Linked DNA regions of Homo sapiens: region 2 is linked to region 1. The links are contacts of gene promoters, found by promoter capture Hi-C in human tissues and cell types (Jung and others, 2019). All regions are on one chromosome and are shown on one strand. The core of a region is centred on a gene start or on the middle of the fragment in contact, and the rest is flanking DNA. Distances in the headings are between cores, read along the strand shown.

The links. Contacts are between HindIII fragments. The study calls those that stand out against the background at their distance.
Region 2: a contact is called between the fragment with the promoter of WNT10A here and the fragment with the promoter of FEV in region 1, in 1 of the 25 tissues and cell types used here (H1 embryonic stem cells).

Annotation. Positions count from the first base shown.
Region 1 is chr2:218,983,184-218,987,963 of GRCh38, reverse strand. It overlaps FEV (FEV transcription factor, ETS family member), which reads left to right and starts at 2,780. Exons shown (of 3, transcript NM_017521.3): 1 at 2,780-2,940; 2 at 3,659-3,733. The coding sequence starts at 2,889. The HindIII fragment of the contact is 32,237 bases long and covers 1-4,780 here.
Region 2 is chr2:218,877,387-218,882,166 of GRCh38, reverse strand. It overlaps WNT10A (Wnt family member 10A), which reads right to left and starts at 1,315. Exons shown (of 4, transcript NM_025216.3): 1 at 1,059-1,315; 2 at 1-6. The coding sequence starts at 1,171. RefSeq lists silencers at 1,240-1,379, 1,400-1,609, 1,830-1,889. The HindIII fragment of the contact is 13,021 bases long and covers 1-4,780 here.

The DNA.
Region 1 (4,780 bases), core at 1,531-4,030:
CAAGCAATTCTTCCACCTTAGCCCCTGAGTAACTGGGATTACAGGCACCTGCCATCATGCCAGGCTAATTTTTGTATTTTTGTAGAGATGGGGTTTCACCTTGTTGGCCAGGCTGGTCTTGAACTCCTGACCTCAGGTGATCACCCTCCTTGGCCTCCCAAAGTGCTGGGATTACAGGCATGAGCCACTGCGCTGGCCCATACCCACTTTACAAATGAGGAGATGCAAGTACAGTACAGAGGTTATGTTACTTCCCCCAAAGTCACATAACCAGGAAATGGGAGAGTCAGGAGTTGAAACTAGAACCCAGGCAAACTGGCTTCAGAGCCCAGCAGGCCACTTCCCCACTGCTTGCTTTGGGGAGCAGGCAATGAGCAAAGGGAGATCTGGAATCTGCCCTTGACTGAGCTGCTCTCCCTACAGGGGTATCTGTGGTTGCTGGGAAGAATCAGCAAGATGGCTTCAGGAACTAGAAGTGTGACTCTGGACCTTCTGGTCCTCCATTCATTCTGGGCAGGCTGGCCATCTGCAGAACCACATGGGACCAGCGCTCAGCAGGGTAGGAAGGGGATGAAGGGGAAACTGCCAAGGACTCTCCTGTTGGCTTCCCTAGCTGTACTTGCAGCAGGAGGGGATGGAGAAGATCAAGACTCAGGTGGGTGGAGATGACTGCCCCCCATGCACACATTTCCTGGTGCTCCACCCCCTCAGCAAATGACTTCTGGGTAAGACTGAGGGATAAAGCCTATACTGTTGATCCTTGCCCAGCTCACAGCTGGGATATTTGGGTAGACCTCACTAGGACCCTCTCCTTTACACCTTAGCCTCCCACTGAGAGCATTAAGTGGGCGAATTTTGATGCCTCCCAGCTTTCCCAGCTCTTACCTCCTGCCCCTGGCTATTTTCTGTTCTTACCTCCTGCTCCTTGTTTTCTGTCCATAGTGGGTGGGGGAAGCAGAAAGAGGAATGAGAAGGAGAGGGATTGGGATCTTGACCCCAACTTCAAGGCCCTCACCTTCTGTGGAGCCCTGAGTTTGGTCCACAGGGAACATTCCAACCTCTAGTCTTTGCTCCCACCAGATTCCAGGTCCACATCCTGAAGGCTTCATCCCTGTCCCACTAGGATCCTCCCAGGCCCTGGGATCCCTCTTTTTCCCTCCACACTCTGCCTCCCACTCTTCTCCCTGGCTCCTTTGCACCCTCCACGAGCAAAGATGAACACTCCAGAAGTTGCAGCAAATGAGGGTGAACATGGGCCCTGTAGAACCCCAGAAGTAGGAGTTTCCAGCCATCCTCAATCAGGCATCCCAGGACCAGGCACTTAGCAGGAGACCTGCCCATTCCCAGGCCTCCTCCACCCCTGGGCTCAAGCAGTGAGAGAGGACTTTGAGAATGCCAGTTTTGACAGTACCCGTTCCATACTGCAAGGCTGCAGAAGGTGGGCTTCTGGGCTGGAGCCTCATCTTCAGCCAGCATCCTCCTTAGCCTGCCTCTCCAGAGCCACGAAGCCCCATAGGTACCCAGAGAGACTCCAGGCCACTTGGGAACCACATCAACATCTTTGCATGAGTTAGAAATAGGAATCCTTTTCTTGGAGTGGATTCCAGCCTTGTACAGTGCACAACCCTGTCTTAACCCCTCCACCTCTCCAGCCTCGTTCAGGGATAGCCAGAATGGGAGTAGTGGTGAGGGTGGGTGGCAGACTGGGAGGACAGGGGATGGGGAAGGATGGGAGCAGAATAGTTGTACAGGGAAGTAGCAGGGGGCTCAGGAACCCATCAGGGAAAGCCAGGACAGATTCTCAACATCTTTAGAGGCCTTCAGCAGTCCAAGCCACTACTAATTTATGGGGACTGAATGAATGAGAAAAGGAGGGGAGGGAGAAGGATGAGAGGGAGAGAGAAGGCTGGAGGGGAGATGAGAGTCGGAGAGAAAAGCCTAGGAGGTAAAGAGAGACCTAGAAGGGGGCGGGGAGGACAGAAGAGGGGGCCACCCATCATAAGTTGCCAGGAGAGATGGCCCAGCACCAGGCCTGAGGCTTGGGGGCCCCAGAAAGGCAGGAAACGGGCCAAAGCAAGAAGGAGACGGGGAAGGGGTTCGGGTCTCTAGGGAAGAGCAGAGAGTGGGAGAAGAGGAGGAGGGAGCGGGGATGCGGGCAGAGATAAAGGGAGCAACGGCTGCAGGGCCGGGCGCGCAGCGACAGGCGAGAGGGAGGGAAGCGGAAATTTAAAAGTGAAGATGCAGATAACGCAGCCTGGAGACGGGAACCCGGGTGGGGATAGAGGGAGGGAGGGGGAGGAGAGTGAGCGGCGAGTGGAGCGGGAGCCGACTGGAAGAAGGGCTCTAGGGAGGGGGCTGTGGCTGCTGGGGTCCGAGGTGGGGCCGGGTACACCAGCCCCATCACTGTTTGCAGAGAGTCAGGGAGGCGGAAAAGACACGCGCTCTAGGCTCCCATCAGGGCACATGGCCCGGGCCCATCCCCCGCGCGTCTCCCCGGCTGCGGGGCGCGGGGGGCTGCCGGGTGCGCTTGGCTGTGGCGCGGCGCGTTGGAGACTTTATTGCGATGGGACGATAAGAGGGGCGGGGGCGGGGTCCTGGGGGCCGAGGCGGCAGCGCTTTAATTAAAACGGAAATTGCGGCCCCGGGCCGCGCGGGGGCCGGAGGGTTCCAAGCGGCCCCTTAGCTGGAAGCGTTTCTCCAGGACCCCCCCGCAACCCCCGCCACGCCCGGGCTGCCCCCTCCCGCCAGGCCCTGCCGGACCCGGCGCCGTCTTCTCCTCCTTGTCACCCGCGGTCGCTTCGGGCGGGGATCGGTGCCACCGAGCGCAAAGCCTGCCTCGCCCCCCTTCCCCGTCCCCCCCATCTCCCACCGCCCAGTCCCCGGCGGCGATGAGACAGAGCGGCGCCTCCCAGCCCCTGCTGATCAACATGTACCTGCCAGGTACCAGGGACCAGCCGGAGGCTGGTGGCACCGGAACCTGGGGCGGGAAGTCTAGGCTCAGGCATGGGAAGAGAGTGCTGGGGTCCAGGGGAAGGAGAAGTGTCCGGAGATTCGGGTTGCATGGAGGGCCGATTGTAATGTAGGGCACTGGGGAGACCTAAAGGCAGATAGAGAGCTCTGGGTTTCAGTGCAGGGTCTAGAGGAGTTGAAATGAGCAGATTGGGAGCCTGGGGGCCAAGAGCCGGGACTCAGGGACCCGAAGGAGCCTGAGAGGGGAAGCACGGGTCTCTGGCGTGGTGGAGTACTCTGTGGCCGAGCCGTACCAGAAGGCTGTGGTCCGCGGGCGTCTCCCCTGCGCTCTCACGGCTCCTCACCTTCCTGCTACGAGCTTCAGGCCGGCCCTCCAGGCACCCTCCTCTTCTCTTCGCGCTCCAGCTCGGCTGGCGCAGTTCCCCGCTCGGCTTTATAAGGCTCCAGCCGGCCCCTTCGGAAAGCGGATTTCCTTTTTCCTGGACGCGTTTCCTGACTTGGGCTCTATGGAGGGGCTCCGCGCAGCGCGCCTGGACCAGGCTCCGGGAGGAGGAGCCGGGTGGCCCGGGCCCCCAGCCTCGCGCCTGGGGACCACAGCACCCCCCTTAAGCCTTGGCCCGGGGCCCTTTTGTCAAGCCCACAACTTCCGCCCGGGGTTCTCCTGATTCTTTTCTTCTGCTGCTTGCAGATCCCGTCGGAGACGGTCTCTTCAAGGACGGGAAGAACCCGAGCTGGGGGCCGCTGAGCCCCGCGGTTCAGAAAGGTGAGATGGCCGGCGCGCTGGGCGGCGGAGGCGAGGTTGGTTGGGGTCAGGGCACAGGCGGACAGTAGGTGGGAGCAGTGTGGACCCAGGGTTCACACTGAAGCCCGGAGTCCTGGCCTGGTTGTGCGGAGGCCTTGGGAAGACAGTCACTTGGTTTTTGGCTCCTGCATCTCCTGAGCACCAGGAAAAGAGTTGCAGGCCAAGGCAGATGGAGAGGATCCCAGCCCCAGGCCCTTTTGCTGCTGTGTATGGTTTTCCAGGCTTTGGGGCAGGGGCTGGGACACTTAGCGTCCTTTCCCTGCTGGTAGTAGGAGCTCAAGGCCGCAGCACCAGCCGGCAATGGAACCGGGGGAATTACTCCCCAAACACAGCGGGCTTCCCAATCACTAGACCCTGGCTACTGCCACCTGCTTCACCCTCCGGCGCTGACTCACGCCGGCTGATCTCTGCTGGCCAACTCTGCCAGACGATTGCAATTGATTCCCAGGTTCACCACCAGCGCTCCACGGGTAGTCGCTAAATTACCCTTTTGACGGCTGGCTCTTCAAGCAGCGTCTCCCCACAGTCCCCATCTCAGTCGTTACCCTAGATCTCACCAAGAGACAGAAACCACAAAAACGAGGTTGGCGACTGTTTTATCCAGAAGGAAACTATGCCCAACAGGAACGGTCATCCAAGCCGCTGAGGTTGCTCCGCCTTTGGTGCCAGGTGCACCTTTGTACCCAAACCTTCCCTTGCTTCTGACCCTAAAACTTAACTCTGGGGACCAGAAACCAGGAAGCTCTTTGCTGGGCTGGCTTGAAGGGATTGGGATTGAAATTATGGGGAAGGGTAGCGTCTGGATTCTAAGCCAGTGGCTGAAAAAGTAAGAGGGGTTCAAAAGACTATATTTGAGGCAGTAAGCAGACCACTTTGAGGAAAATCCGTTTTATTCTAAAAGGGAGTGGGGGTAATTGTATCGGGATTTTTCTCTGCCTGTCTGCTTGAGGCTCCAAGACAGGGGAGCAGGAATTCTGGGACCCCACTCTCTAACCACTCGCATATCCT
Region 2 (4,780 bases), core at 66-2,565, 100 kb after region 1:
GCTGACCTGCAGACATATGGGGTGGAGTGGGTACGTGTTTTGGGGGGACCAGGAGAGCCCCATCTAACAACACACACTCTGTCCCAACGGCCATAATCACTCCCTCTTCCAACCTCTGCTTCTGAAGGTTGGGCCCATCAGTACACTCCTACACATTCCTCTCTCCTTGACCTCCTCACAATCATCCTGCCCAGTGCAACTCACTCAGCTAGCTGCACACCCACACAGGTAAGCGTGCAAATGCACACACATCCACCATGCTTGTGGCCACAGTATTTCCTATGCACATCCCCAGGAATAGATGCCCATACACACAGGGTTCCCCACAAGCCCACTCCCACAGATATGTTTCAGTCACATTCACATAGACACACTTCTGCACACATTGTGGTGGACACACAAACCCAACCCCAGCACACTTACGCACATGCACACTTCATCAGACATAGTTACAGACACACACACAAAGACACTCCCATTTACACATGTGTTCATCTTAACATACATTGACCCATGAGCTCTCACATGCACACATGGGCACACATACAAACTACTGTTTACCAACACAGTTTGCTGGGATCCTGGGCTCGATTGAAAACACACACACACACACACACACACACACAGCTCTTGCAGCTGCAGTCTCTCACTGACCCCACCTGGGCTACCCCCTTCCAGCCTCCCAACCCCTGCCCCTACCTGGGGCTGAGCTGCAGGAAGGAGTGAGGCAGCTTGTGCTTACTCCTGAGGTGGGGGTGCATTCCCCCAACAGGGCAGGAACTCCAGACTGGCACTTGCTCCCCCCCCACACACACCTCCCCTCCTAGTTGCCATCATGCTCCTGGGCACTGCCTTGTCTCCCTGGACTGCCCATATCCTGTCACCAGTCCAACCCCCTCCTATGAGGGAGCTCACTGCCTTTGGTTGGGCACCAGCACTTTCCTATGACCCTGTCCCTCCCTTCTTCCAGGGTCCTCTACCCCAGCAAGAGCATCAGAGGCCCCTGCAGGCCGGGGTCCCAACTCTCTAGGAGGGCGGAGCATGAGGTGAGGGCTCACCTGGGCATGGCAGCAGCCAGCAGCAGTAGGAAGAACAGGAGCACCCAGAGCGCTGGCCGCGGCTGGGGCTGGGGTCGGAGCCGCAGCCAGGGGCGAGGGTGGGCGCTGCCCATGGCGCGCAGGCCCTGACGGGCTGGGAGTGGGGGGCTCACAGCCCAGTGGGACTGGAGAGCCAGGGGCGCCGGCGCATGATCGGCGGGGGGTCGGGGCGGCTGCGACACACAGCTCCGACTCGGGTCAGGGCTCCCGGAGCAGACGGCGCCCGCCTCCCCGCTCCATGGGGCAGCACCCCCGGGCACCGCCCTCGGGGGGGGCGGGGGGTGAAGAGCGGGCGAACCGGGCACCTCCTGGCACAGGGGTCCGGGGAATTTCCCGAGGCCCCCCCGCGACAACTCCCGGTGCCTCTCAAGGGTAAGGGGGGCCCGGAGGTGCAGCGGGCTGGGGACGGGAGGCTGGGGTGCCGGGGAACCCTCCAGCGCAGCGCCGGGAGCCTGCGCTTCCGAGGGCGTGCGAGGCTGGCTGGCGGGGGCGGCGCTGTCTGTGTCGGGCCCCACTGCCTGTAGAGTAAGTGACTGTCCCGGCTCGGGGAGCTCTGCCGCCTTCCCTTTCCTCCCCCCACCCCCCCGCCATTTAGTGTCTCAGGGCTCTACCCCACGTGACGTCACGCGGCGGGGCGTGGAGGCGTGTACGAGTCCCGAGGCCACTGCGTCCGCTGGGGACTGGGGGTGGGAGCGTCCCTGCTGAGGGCAACAGAGGGAAAGGTGTTGGGGTCTGTGCGCGCGTGCACAGGAAGATGCCTGTGTGTGGAGCGCGCTGGGTTGTGTGGGGGATATGTGTTACCGCGAGGTGTGTGTGCCTGGCAGAGACGCAGCTGCTGGGGAGCGCCCCCATCCCACCCCAACACACACACCTGCAGGGGCTGGAGGGGAGGGGCTGGCCTCTGTGTTTCGCCTCCTCCGCCAGAGGAGGGACTTCCCCCAGGCCTGCCTGGTGTGAGGCAGGTGTGGGCTCCTGCAGAGGAGTTTGGCAGCCTCTGGTTTCTTCTCCCCTTTGCTGTGTGACCTTAAACAGGTGCCTCCTGCTCCTGCTCACGGAGACCTCCTCTGCCCCTTTGCGGAATGCGGCTCATGGGGACCACCTTGTCTCCTCAGTGAGCCCGGGGAGGCAGCAGTGTCAGGCCCCCAGAAAATGCTTGCGTAGGAGCGCCCGGGGTGGCACGTCCTGGGAGGAGGCGTTAGAGAGACTTTTAACCCTAGAAGTGGCCGTTGAGATAGTTTATTTAGCTCCCCTTTATTTCACAAGAAAATATCGAGGCTCAAAGAGGTCACACAGCAAATTAGCGGAAGAGCGAGAACCGAACGCAGCTCTCCTGACTCCCAGCGCAGCAGCTGCCTCCCCAACACTGAGTGTTGCCTGCCTGTGCCCGCAGATACTCTCAGTCTTGTCCTGGCCCTCCCTGGCCCCACCTGCACATGGTCCTCTAGGAGGTCCCTAATACCAGCCTCCTGGCTCAGGTCTACTTCTCGCTGAGATCTTCCTGTCCCTCCACCCCAACTGAACACTGGGCCCCTCCTCGATATAGTGCAAGTGTGCTGGGCCCAAGCAAGGGCCTGAGAGCCAGAGGGCAGGGGAAAGGCAGCTCTGCCGTCTGTTTCTGGTGCTAGCCTGGGCCCTGATAGTGGATCGTGCTCCTGCCCTGTGCCCTCGGCATCCTCCTCTGTAAAATGGGCACAAGCCTTTACACAAACATGCCCCTCTCTCTGAAGAGAGCCCCTGCTGGCTTAGGAACAAAACTATGGGAGCCTCTGGGCTCAGAGACAAAAAAGGCCCATTCCTGGAATTGCCCATCCCTGGGGAACTGAAGGAGGGGGTGGGGCCCTCCTTGTCCCCAGACTGTCAGGTGGTGGGGGCGGCCTGAGCAACAGCAGGCTGACGGCATACTCCCCCCTCCTTTCCCCCTCATCTCTGCCGGCAGCCACCGCAGCTGTCAGGAATTAAGGGCTTGAGGCTGCTGGGGGTGGGGGTGGGGCAGTGGGGGGGGAGCAGTCTGGCTGGACTGCAGGAAAACAGCCAGGGGCAGCAAGCAGACTGCGTCAGCTAGAGCCTTATTTGACCCCAACTGCCCCCTGCCCTCCCCACTCTCCCTACCATGCTGCAGAAACGGGGACAGCTTGGGACTAGCATTTGGGAAGGGTAAGCGGTAAGGGTAAGGGTGGGACCAGACTCAAGACAGGAGACAGGCACCAGCCCAGGATGAGAGAGGACACCAGCAAGCTGGAGAGTCATATTCTTATTGGCTGTTGGGGAAACTGAGGCCCAGAAAGAATTAGGAACGTGACACAGGGAAGGGACTCATAATCAGCTTACAGATGTCCTTATTCCCCATCACGCGCTCACACTAGCATTTCCCACGCTTGATGCAGCACAAGTGTCCCCTGGGGTGGGCCATTGTGGGAATGCGGATTCCAGGCCCCATGAAGTTGAATCAGCCTTTCCAGGGAAAGGCCTGGGTGTCTGTCTTTCTAGCTAGCATCCCCAGTGATTCTGGTGGGGACTCCTTTTGGGAAACGCTGCTGACCTGGTTGAGGAGCTGATTTAGTTTCCTTTGGCATCTCTCTGATGAGGGGGTCTCTTTTCTTCCCCACCTCCACTGTCTGTGAAATACAGAGGTGCAAAGGAGACCGAGAAAACCCTTTCTTAAAAAAAAACAAAAAAGCCTCCGGAGGCAAATAGTGATACTGAGGCTTGCACTCAGGCGTGGCTCTGCCCTGGTGTCAGGAGGGTCTAGGAGTGCCCAAGTCAGAGCACTTCTCAGTGAAGGGAGGGGAGAGTCTGTGTTGGTCCAGAGCCTTGGCATGTATGTAGGTGAGGCCCAGAGACTGTCTGCCCCTGGGGTCCCAGCCCCAAATGACCCACACCATGGCCAAGCCCCTATCAGCACCCCCTAGTCCCCACCCTGGCCCTGCCCTGGGCCCTGGCCCTCAGCCCAGCCCCAGCCCCCGCAGCCGCCGCCTAAGACCACAATTACAGGGGCCACTGGGGGGCGGGGGAGCACTGGGGATGAAAGGCAGCTTGGAGAATGGTTCCAGCTGTGGCAGCTCTGGAGAAGGTCACAGGGAGGAAGGGCCGGGGAAGCATGGGGGTGAGAACAGGTGGGACCCTCACAGCCCCAGCCTAGCCCAGTCCAGCCCCAGCCCAGTCCTGGTGCCCAGCTGGAGAAGTTTGTCTTGCTGAAGAAGAACGCCAAGGAGCCACAGACCAATAAGGAGGCTCTTCATTCCATTGTCCAGGCCTCAGAGGCCACCAACCCTCAGCAAGGTAAGGGGGAATGGCTTGCTGCTGCAGTCTCCCCAAACTCCCAATGTGTTTGGTCATTGAAAGGGAAGGGAATTGTTCCCCGAGCCCGTGGCCTCAGGCTGATCCTAGGCCTTCCACTCGGCCTCCTCACCCATCTGCCTGTGTTCCGCCTGTTCCTGATGTGGTCACACACACATCTGGGGTGCCTCTTTGCACTTCCCCCATCTCCCCAGTTCCACATGTCCCCTGCCATTCAGCCAGCAGGGGACTTTGATGGCTCAGACTGCCTGAGGCTGAGCAGCTGGATGAGCAGGGGTGGGTGGTGGTGGGAACTCTACTTCCGGCCCCTTCCCAGGCAGCAGGGCAACAGCACAGATCTATCTCTGGGCTCAAAGAAGATAAGGCTAGAAGTCCCAATGGTGCCT